Linked DNA regions of Homo sapiens: regions 2 and 3 are each linked to region 1. Evidence: promoter capture Hi-C in human tissues and cell types (Jung and others, 2019). All regions are on one chromosome and are shown on one strand. Each heading gives the region's core, a stretch centred on a gene start or on the middle of the fragment in contact. The rest is flanking DNA. Distances are from core to core; before and after follow the strand shown.

Evidence for each region. Contacts are between HindIII fragments. The study calls those that stand out against the background at their distance.
Region 2: a fragment that was not itself captured here is called in contact with the fragment with the promoter of RAX in region 1 in 2 of the 25 tissues and cell types used here (mesendoderm cells and thymus).
Region 3: a contact is called between a fragment that was not itself captured here and the fragment with the promoter of RAX in region 1, in 3 of the 25 tissues and cell types used here (H1 embryonic stem cells, heart left ventricle and mesendoderm cells).

Annotation. Positions count from the first base shown.
Region 1 is chr18:59,272,204-59,275,720 of GRCh38, reverse strand. RAX (retina and anterior neural fold homeobox) reads left to right here and starts at 2,267. Exons shown (of 3, transcript NM_013435.3): 1 at 2,267-2,803; 2 at 3,107-3,360. The coding sequence starts at 2,515. The HindIII fragment of the contact is 4,384 bases long and covers 1-2,531 here.
Region 2 is chr18:59,125,666-59,129,462 of GRCh38, reverse strand. No RefSeq gene overlaps it. Among named protein-coding and RNA genes, the nearest start is that of SEC11C, 12 kb to the left of the region's middle. The HindIII fragment of the contact is 3,708 bases long and covers 440-3,797 here.
Region 3 is chr18:59,411,790-59,415,411 of GRCh38, reverse strand. No RefSeq gene overlaps it. Among named protein-coding and RNA genes, the nearest start is that of LMAN1, 54 kb to the right of the region's middle. The HindIII fragment of the contact is 5,733 bases long and covers 1-3,622 here.

The DNA.
Region 1 (3,517 bases), core at 1,018-3,517:
CAGGGGACTTTCCAGAGGGTTTGTTAATTTGCCCTGGATGCCGGTACCCAAAGCCCACTCTCTATAGGCTCTGACTTTATTTCTTCTGGGAGCTAAACTGCTTCTACCTCCGCCTCTTAGATGCAGAATCCAGTCTCAGGGAAGGATTAAAGACAGACTGCAGGCTAAGATGGGCTTTGATTCTTTTCAAAAAGATCACACACTACAATAATAATTACAAATGAGCTGCAGGCAGAAAACACTGGACAAGGAGTCAGTGGCCTGAGTTCTAGTCCTGACCCTTCCACTTAATAGCTGTATCACTTTGAGCCTCAGTTTCCTCTTCTGTAAAATGGGGACCAATATGTCTGTCCTGCTCACCTCACAAGGTTGTGAAGATCAGATGACATGAAGAATGTGAGAAGATTCTGAAACCTACAAAGTGACATGTCGAGAGAATTGCTTGAGCCCAGGAGTTCCAGGCTGCAGTGAGCCACCATCATGCCACTGCACTCCAGCCTGGGCAACAGAGAGGGACCCTGTCTCTAAAATAAACAGACAAATAAATAATAAGTAAATAAAGTAATATGTGAACACTGTAAAGTGCTATTAACTTTCATTAATTTTAGCTTTTTTCTTAAAAGATAATTTCTGACTTGAATTAGTTCAATTTCTATCTCCTGCAGTCACATGCTTGCCCTTATTTTAGTTTGCCATTATATAGTTTTATTAAAAGTAGATATGCCCATCATGGGGAATTAACCATTGAATGATCCTTAAGAAATTGACTTGTCCTCCGCAAACATCCTTCTAACACCAATTTAAAGGTTGGGGATCTGAGGATGTGTGTTTTCCCTCTTCCTTTGTCTTGTCTTCCAGACTGGACGTTAAACTCCACCAGGCCAACGGCCCTGGCCTTTCCCAATTTGTTTGATGCCCACGACGTGGCCCTCGACGGTTGCCTTGCCCTCTAAAGGGACGCAGCAAACGCTTGTCTGAACGCAAGCGGGATAAAGAAGACACCCCTGCTGTGGAGATCAGAGCGCCTACTGAAAAGGAGATTTTAGGGATATTGTCCTCTAGGTCCTTGAGCTTTTATAGGAAAGCATTTTAATTCACGGTTCAGGCCACCAGTTCAGGGAAGGCCAAGCGCTCGCCTCGGGTCTCGCCTCAGATTTGAGGGGTGAGACGTTCACAGCGCCATTGTCCATCCGCGCTGCTGGAGGTGAAACACACTCACCCTATCCAATCATCTTTCCAAGTGGCCGATCAGTCACTGTGGGCCACGGAAGCCTCGAGGGGGTCCAAAGGAGAAAGAACTGCAAGCCAATTACTCCTGAACCCTCGGGGAGGCGAGAGGCCTCTTCCCCGGGAGAAGGTCCTTCCCCAGCCAGCTCTGGGCCATCTCCTTGGCCCGGAGTGTTGGAGGGAGGCGGGAGTGCGACACCGCTGCTCATCAGTAAAGGAGCCCGCCCTCCCCGCAGGACAAGGGGCGGGAGCGAGGAACTCCAGGTGGGTCTCCTGCGGGACCTGAGCCCGGCAGCACATCCGACTCGGGGCTCCCAGTCTCCTGCTGGGCGATCGGGCGCTAGAGGTCACCGGACTTGCGGACATAAATGGCCCTGGGGTGGGCGCTGCGGGGAAGGAGGGAGGCTGCCGGCGCTCAAGTCCGAGGGGACTGGGAGGAGTTACAACAGATATAGACGGACAAACTAAACGCGAGGTCCGGGACTTCGTACAACCCAGCCAAGAAAGGAGTGGGTCCCGAAAAGGGAGCCAGCGAGGGGAAATTCAAACTGCGACGAGTGCGGGGCTGGGAAGCCTTCGGCTGGGTCTCGGCGCTTCCAGGGGGCACAGGCCAGGGTGGCGGCCCCGCGGAGGTGAGCCAGAGGGGGCTAGAGGGGCGAGTCTGAAGCTGGGGAGGGGTGCGTCCAAGGAGGGAGGTGACCCCCAGGGGGTAGTCTGAAGTGAGAGGGTAAGCCCGAAGTAGAGGGAGACAAACGCAAGGGGAGAGATGAGCCCAAGGGCGTCGGCCCCACTGAGGCAGGACTAGGGGTGCGCCGCGACCAGGTTCCCGAGCCCATCAGGCATCCCGCCGCGGATCCCCGGAGTGTGTTTGTAAAGCTTAAAACGGATCAAGAGGTGGAAGGGGAATATTCCTAGTGCCGGCCCAGGGGTGGCCACTAGAGGACCCTGTGGCTGGGCCGGGTGAGGACACGCCCCTCTGTGGAGGGAGGGGCCGAGAGAAGGGGCTGGGTCCAGGGCGAGAGGGGAGGAGCCGAGGGCCAGTTGGCTCCCCGCCTTTAGCGCCGAGAGCCCCAGCTACCCCGAGCCCGAACTTCCGACTTCTGGGACTAAGGCGGCAGCGGGCTGAGCGCTCGGCCACCCCCAGCGTGCGCAGCCCGGGCGGGCTTCGCCCGCGGAGCTTGACCTAGGGTCGGGACCCGTCGGGTTGCACCGCCGCACTCGGGAAGACCCGGCTTCGAGCCTCTCCTCTCCGTCTCCAAAGCGCCCTCCCGCCTCCCGGCGCTCCCCATGCACCTGCCGGGCTGCGCGCCAGCCATGGCCGACGGGAGCTTCTCGCTTGCCGGCCACCTGCTCCGCAGCCCGGGCGGGAGCACCTCGCGACTTCACAGCATCGAGGCCATCCTGGGGTTTACCAAGGACGACGGGATCCTCGGCACCTTCCCGGCGGAGCGGGGCGCCCGGGGCGCGAAGGAGCGGGATAGGAGGCTGGGCGCGCGGCCCGCCTGCCCCAAGGCGCCCGAGGAAGGCTCCGAGCCCTCCCCGCCGCCAGCCCCGGCGCCCGCCCCCGAGTACGAAGGTGAGTGCGCACCCCTGGCTGTGCGAGGCCGTTCGGGCGCCCGAGCTTAGGAGTTGGCCAGACGAGAGCGCCCCTTCCTTAACTTTTATTAAGGCAACTGGGCGCGGGGTTGGGGACCGTCTATGGCGGGAGCTTCCAATTTGCATTCAGAGAAAGCTTAGGACCCATCGCCGCCCTCACCACGGACCTCCCCGGGCCATCTCGGAGCCCGCAGGCGGGCTGGCCAGTGCCCACAGCGAGGCGGGGTCGGCCCAAGGGTGTTTTGGGGAGTGCATCTGACCCTCCCGGGCCTCGTCGCCCCAGCCCCTCGACCCTACTGCCCCAAGGAGCCCGGGGAGGCACGGCCGAGCCCAGGGCTGCCCGTCGGGCCAGCCACCGGCGAAGCGAAACTGTCAGAGGAGGAACAGCCCAAGAAAAAGCATCGGCGGAACCGCACGACTTTCACCACGTACCAGCTGCATGAGCTGGAGCGCGCGTTCGAGAAGTCCCACTACCCGGACGTGTACAGCCGCGAGGAGCTGGCCGGCAAGGTCAACCTACCAGAGGTCCGGGTCCAGGTAAAGCGCCCAGGTTGAGGAACTGGGATCTGGGAGGGCCCGAGGCCCAAATTGCAGCCAATGCTTCTCGGAATTCACGGGTGTCCATGCATTTATTACTGTCCTTCCTCGACTTGGCATGCCCAGAGTCTCAAGGGAGAGGCACAGATCTTCGATG
Region 2 (3,797 bases), core at 1,044-3,543, 150 kb after region 1:
CCCATCTGCAGTTAACTGATAAAGAAAAACCTCAAGCCTGGTTTACAATAGGGTCTGCATGATATGCTGGTACCACCTGAAAGTGGACAGTTGTGCCACCTAACAGCCCCACATAGAGGTGATTCCAAAGGACACCTGAAGGAAAAACATCTCAGTGGGCAAAACTTCAAGTAGTACATTGGGTTGAGAGGGGGCTAAAAGCATGGGTCTACAGTTATTTGTGGACGTTTGCTACTTATTTGACTGGATCATCAGGGATGTGGAAGGAACTGTATTGAAAAGTTGGTGACAAGGATGTCTTTGGAAAAGGTATGTGACAAATCTCTCAAAATGGGTGCAAATTATGAAGATATTTGTGTCCCAAGTGAATGCTTATCAAATGCATATCATACAAAGGAGGCTATTAATAACCAGGTGAACAAAATTATATTCTCCATGGATATCAATCAGCCTCTTTCCTCAGCCATCCAAGTACTTGCTCAATATTCCTGTAACTAAATTGGACATGGTATCAAGATAGAGGTTATGTGTGGGCCAAAATATGGCCTCTCCTTCTCCAAAGCTGACCTGAATAATGCCACTGCTGATTGCCTACTCTGCAGATAGCAGAGACTGACATTGAGCCCCAAAATGGCAAATTTTTTTGGTTGGGCTAACCAGCCAGCTGGTCACAGGTGTTGATTACATTGGATATTTTCTATCATGGAGAGGGAAGAGATTTGTTCTCACTGAAATAGATACATATCCAAATATGGATATGCCTTCTCTGCATCAAATGCTTCTGCTAGCACCACCATCTGTGGACTCACAGCATTCCTTACCCATCGTCATGGCATTACATGCAGCATCACTATTGCTTCTGATCAAGGAACTAATTTCACAGCAAAGAACATATTCAGCATTGGTTCATGCCTATGTAATAAACTGCTTTTATTACATACCTCATCACTCATAAGCAGCTGGCCTGATTGAAAAGTCGGAGGGCTCCCTGAAGCTTTGATAATGATATCAATTTGGAGATAATTCTAAAAATTTTAGTTTTGTCTTATAGAATGCAGTATATGCTTTCAATTGATAACAATTATGTAGTGCTGTTTCCATAACCAGAACACATGAGTCCAGAAATAAAAAAGTGGAAATGAGATTGGTTCCTCTCAATATTATACCCGGTAATGTACTCTCAAAAATTTGCTTCCCATCTTGGCAACCTTAAGCTCTGCTAGTTGGCAATCTTATTCCCCAAGGGGAAATGCTCCTGCTAGGGACACAGCAATGGCTCCATCAAATTGGCAGATGAAACTACCCTCGAGCCCCTTGGGCTCCTTATACACTGAATCAGAAAGCAGAAAAATGGCTGGAATAATTGATTCTGATTACTAAAAGAAAATCGGATTGCTACTACAAAATGGGGCCAAGGAGAGCTCTATCTGAAACTCAGTGGGTACTCTAGGATGTCTTTTAGTTCTTTCATGTTCAATAAAAAATGGCTACAGCAGCCAAAAATTTCTTTAAAAGACAGAACTACTGAGGACTCAGACCTTTGAAAAACAAAGTTTTTGGTTACTTCACCATATAAACAATAATTATCAGCCAAGTTGCACGCTGAAATAAGGGAACTATAGAATGGGTAGTGGTAGAATAAAATCATCACCTTGACCTTGTGGCCAATTATAGAAATGAGGGCTATATTACAGCTGCATATTTTTTTATTTGCCTATTATATGTACATATTAATTTGCATGTTATAACCATTTTGTTCTTCTTCCTCCTACCTATTATCCATTTATATGCAAGTTCTTGGATGTTAACTTTATAATTTAGTCTTTAGGTAACAGAATATTCAGTGGAACTGTGACTGAATTTAAAAAATAAATAATATAGCCAGCAAGGATACAATGACTGGGACTGCATATGTCCTCATTTTGGAGAAAGTGAGAACTTTTTCACTTATTCAAAGGTTAGCTGCTGCTTGTTCATTGGAAATATAGAGTTGTTTAATTGTTGTCCAGAAGTTCAAACATGTATAGGAGGATGCATATGGAAGCTGATTAGCTAAATGAGCGACCTGTGCCTTTGAACAATTATGACCTCTCTCCAAATCTACCCTTCCTTGCCCTGCTTTGTGATACAGAGCTGAACCCTGTGAACTTTCTCCATTGCCAGCTGACACAATGTTAAGCTTTGCCAATAGAGAGCACTAGGGGGACACCAGAGGAGGACAGGCTCTCGTGTGCCTTTTCCCCTGTTCCTGTGGTATGTAGATACCTGTGGTATTTAGATACCAGTGGCACGCGTGATTCCCAGTGCTGCTCACCCTCCAGCAAGTCACAATGTTTGCACAGCGGTTGGCTGCCCTTTGAGTTTCACCAGTGCCGTGGATGGTCTTCCAGTGCATCTCACTGGCACTTCTGTGGGCAGTTTCCTGCTTGCCATCCTAGCCCGTCACACCTCAGAGAACTTCTCTACCATCCAGGGGACCACAGCCACAGCTTCGAAATCTAATCTCAGACATCAGGAGGCAGATCCTCTTTCAAGTTTGTTCTGTTCTTGGGTATACTGCTTCAGCCCTATAAGTCGTGGCTACTCCCTGTATCTGCTAGTCCTGTATTCTTTAGAGTTCTCTTTACTCCCTAAGTAGTTAATCCACTGTTATTAGTTGCTAGTTATTAACATGTTAAATTTTCTTTGTTCAAATTACTGGTGTGATCTTTGTCTCTTGACTGCACCCTGACTGGTATAACTAATCATTGAAGAGGCTACTCCAACCACCAAATACAATATCTGACTTAATAAGCTGGGTGGGTTTTTTTCATATAGTCACACAAGTAACACATAAATATTCCCATGGAAAACCCAGATTACAGACAAATGAAATCTCCCTTCACCCCACTCCACTCTCAATGCAATCCAAGTTATTTCCCAGTGTTGGAAGTATGCTGTGTGTCCTTCCAGATCTAGCCCCTCTCCCTTCTTATTAATTTGTTTCTACTTGTTGCTTTTGAAACAATGTTATGATGTGGGGTGGGGTGGGGGGTGTCTTGGCAGTTTTGTAAGATAAAATTCCTAGAAATTGGATCACTTAGCCAAACAGCATTAACATTTAAATTTTAAATTTCCCTCCAGAAAGGCTAAACTAAATTCTAATCCCACACAATAAGATTTTAGCCAGTCACAGCAGCCCATGTCTGTAATCCCAGCACTTTGGGAGGCTGAGGTGGGCAGATCACTTGAGGTCAGGAGCTCGAGACCAGCCTGGCCAACATGGTGAAACTCCATTTCTACTAAAAATACAAAAATTAGCCAGGCACGGTGGCATGCACCTGTAATTCTAGCTACTTGGGAGGCTGAGGCAGGAGAATCACTTGAACCCAAGAGAGCCAAGATCGCGCCACTGCACTCCAGCCTGGGTCACAGAGCACGACTCCATCTCAAAAAAAAAAAAAAAAAAAAAGATTTTAGACAGTCAAGCTATGTGAAACTTAGAAGGTACCATAGAAATCACATGGGTAAAACTTTTTCACCTAACTGATGGTGAGCTAAGGCTCAGAGAGAGAAATGACTTTTCAATGTCATACAAATAACTAAATCTGGAAGGCAGGGGGAAACTTACGTTGTTGGACTAGGCTTTAAGGAATTACATTCAAAATAATGGTTCCATATTTAAGTCTTGTTGACCCAAAGCAAAGTGGATAACTGAGGCAACTCTTAATATAACCACTCTTCCAACAGCCCTATATTTCCAACAAAATGATCTATGTGTCTTGGCCATGGGTGAACTTGCAGTCCAAATCACCCAG
Region 3 (3,622 bases), core at 557-3,056, 140 kb before region 1:
CTGAGGTCAGGAGTTTGAGACCAGCCTGGCCAACATGGTGAGACCTGATTTCTACTAAAAATACAAAATTAACTGGGCATGGTGGTGAATGCCTGCAATCCCAGCTGCTTTCGAGGCTGAGGCAGGAGAATCGCTTGAACCCGGGAGGTGGAGGTTGCAGTGAGCTGAGATCACACTACTGCACTCCAGCCTGGGTGACAAGAGTAAAACTTCTTCCAAAAAAAAAAAAGAGACGTTAGCCCTCAGCCCTGCAGTTATCAAATGTGTGTGTGCCCATCAGAAACACCTGGCCAGGTGCAGTGGCTCAAGCCTGTAATCTCAGCATTTTGGGAGGCTGAGGTGGGCAGATCACCTGAGGTCAGGAATTCAAGACCAGCCTGGCCAACATGGTGAAACCCTGTCTCTACTAAAAATACAAAAATTAGCCGGGCATGGTGGCCCATGCCTGTAATCCCAGCTACTCGGGAGAATGAGGCAGGAGAATCACTTGAACCCAGGAGGTGGAGGTTGTAGTGAGCCAAAATTTCGCCACTGCACTCCAGCCTGGGCGGCAGAGTGAGACGCCATCTCAAAAAAAAAAAAAAAAGAATCACCTGGAAAGATGGTTAAAATAGATTGCTGGCTCCACCCCCAGCGTGTGAGATTCAGTACATCTTGGGGGTAGAACTGGAACATTTGCCTCTCTAACAAGTTCTATGAACAATACATTGAGAACCTCTGTATTAGACTTGAAATATAAATAATATGTAGGAGGCTCCCTTTCATATTCATCCTCTCTTTGACCAGGGGGAAAGTGTAACCTGACAATAAAAACATGTGCCAATGTACTCATCCAGAAATAGAATTGAGGAAGAGAAGGGAGATGAAGAGAGAAAGAATGCTGCAGAATGCGTCTCATTTTAAAAAGCAGTGACAGTGGGAGGAAAACAGTTCTTGCCAGGAGCACAGCCAGCGGGGCACAGGCAGGCCTGTGGAAGGCAAGGCATGAAGTTGGAGGGGAAGGAGGAGTTTGGGGAAAGAAGCTAGGTTTTGCTGTGCTGTTGTGAAAAAGGTGGGCGGAAAAGTGTAAAATCAAGTTTTTTTAATGGCATGCTTCAACGAATCTCCGTCCTAGTATTTGAGAACCGAGTTACTGTGAAACCATGTTTTGGCAGAAGCAAACACAAATCCTCTCTGTAAAATGTGCCACTTGAAAAATTAGCACATGCATCCAGGCTTTATAAGCATCAATCTGCTTAAGTCAATCAAGCGACTAAGTAAAATATATTATTACGTTCAGATCTTATGTGTGGGCAGATAGTCTTCATTCTATAGCTCTGTAATTTGCTGGTGGGATAAAGAGTTATTGGAGGATTCTCTCAAACTTTTAAAAAATATGTCAGGGGAAAGAAAACAAATTTGAATCTTTCCAAATTTATATTAGGGTCTCACCAGTTCAGGCAGTATACACAGTACTGCTAAATATTTTCTTTTTTTTAACATAGAATTCCTGCCAGGATTATATTTTGTTTAGTTTTCATCACCTTCATATCTTGTGCTTTTTTTAAGATGAGGAATATTTGACAGATTTACTCAAAAATGTTGGTCACATTAAACCAATAATTTGAAATTCTTGTTTCTTTCCAAGGAGAAATCATGTGGACTTCTACCTTGGTCTTACATCAAAAGTGGTTCCCATTTCCAGGTATATTTTGGACTAAATATTCACAAAAACTCATTCTTTTAATGAAGCTTAACATGATGATTAAAATTTTAAAAACATATTTTTAGATGCATGGTTGACTTGACGGGAAACTAAGGGGATTATTTGGAGGTCAGAGATGCCTGTAATCCCAGCTACTTGGGAGGCTGAGGCAGGAGAATCACTTGAACCCGTGAGGCGGAGGTTGCAGTGAGCTGAAATCATGCCACTGCACTCCAGCCTGGGCAACAGAGTGAGACTCAGTCAAAAAAAAAAAAAAAAAAAAGAAAGAAAGAAAGGAAAGAAAGAAATGACAAATCCAAAGAGGCCAGTAGGAACTTGAGTTGGTATTTACCACTGCATGTCTGCTAGTCCCTTGTTATTTGGAGCCACCATTTAAATAGACATGTACATGTGTCTATGTACATGTAAATGTACGTGTGGACTGGAAAGAAAGCTTGGGACAAAACAGGGATGTTATGAGTTGAATTGTGTTTCCCAAAATTCGTATGTTGAAATTCCAGCCCACAGTACATCAGAATATGACCTTTTTTGGAAATGGGGTTATTAAAGATGTAATGAGTTAATTTGAGGTCATTTAGGGTGGACTCTAATGTATGTAATGTAATGACTGGTGTCCTTATGAAAAGGGGAAAATATGGACACAGAATGTAAAGATGAAGGCGGAGATTGGGGTGATGCCATCACACCAATGAATACTAGAGATCGCCTGCAAACCTCCAGAAGCCAGGGGAGAGCATGGGACATCCCTCAGAAGGAACCAACTCTGCCAACGCCTTGATTTTGGACTTCAAGCCTCCAGAACTGTGAGATGATAAGTTTCTGCTGTTTAAGCAACCTAATTTGTGGCACTTTGTTATCCCAACCCTAGGAACCAAAATAAAGGAGGAAACTGGATTTAAGTCTTAATCCAAAGTCTGGATACTCAAAGTACAACATGCTCAATGGGTGAGTAGGGGTGAAAACATCCACAGAGGAGCCAGTGAATCCATAGGCATCACCAGCCTGACTTGAAACAACTTCTGTGACCTCAAATGGTCTGCAATGAAAATTTAGTTTCAAATAATCCCAGGCTGATAGTGTTCCCAGGCACCTGGCAGAAGCAAACACAAATCCCTCTGGATGCACATACTTTAAACTCAGGCCTCCAAGAAAAGTCTCACGGATACATTTCCAAGAAACATGAGCCCCTCGTCAAAAATCATTAAACATAGCAAAAAAAAGGAGTAAGAGTTGACGGAAGCAATAAAGTGCTGAAATGAACTGCAAAGAATGCAAATATGGAATTATTGGATACACCATCGACAATAAGTATGTTTAATACAATTTAAGAAAAAAAGGCATTGAAAAAAAGCAAGGAACATGGAACTATCAAATTTGATCAGACAGATTTGGAAGAGGACCGAAAACACTTCTCTAAATGAAAACTATAATTATTATTTTTAAATGAAGTGAATGGTTTAAACAGCAGGTAAGATACAGTAGAATTGGTGAACTGGAAAATGGATTTGAAGGAAAGTAAATTGAAGACCAGGAGGCAAAGATGAAAAATATGAAGGAAGAGACATATGGAACAATATGACAAGGATGAAAATGAAGCTAATTGGAATTCTAGATGGAAGCATTAGAAAGTGACAGGGCATGGCTGGGCGTGGTGGCTCACACCTGTAATCCCAGCACTTTGGGAGGCTGAGGTGGGAGGATCACTTGAACCCAGGAGTCTGAGACAAGCCTAGGCAACATAGAACACATCTCTAAAAAAATTAGCCAGGTGTGGTACTGTACTCCTGTAGTACCAGCTACTTGGGAGGCCAAACCAGGAGGATGGAGTCAGAGAGGTCAAGGCTGCAGTAAGCCATGACTGCACCACTGCACTCCAGCCTAGGCAACAGAGCGAGACCTTGTCTCAAAATGAAAAAC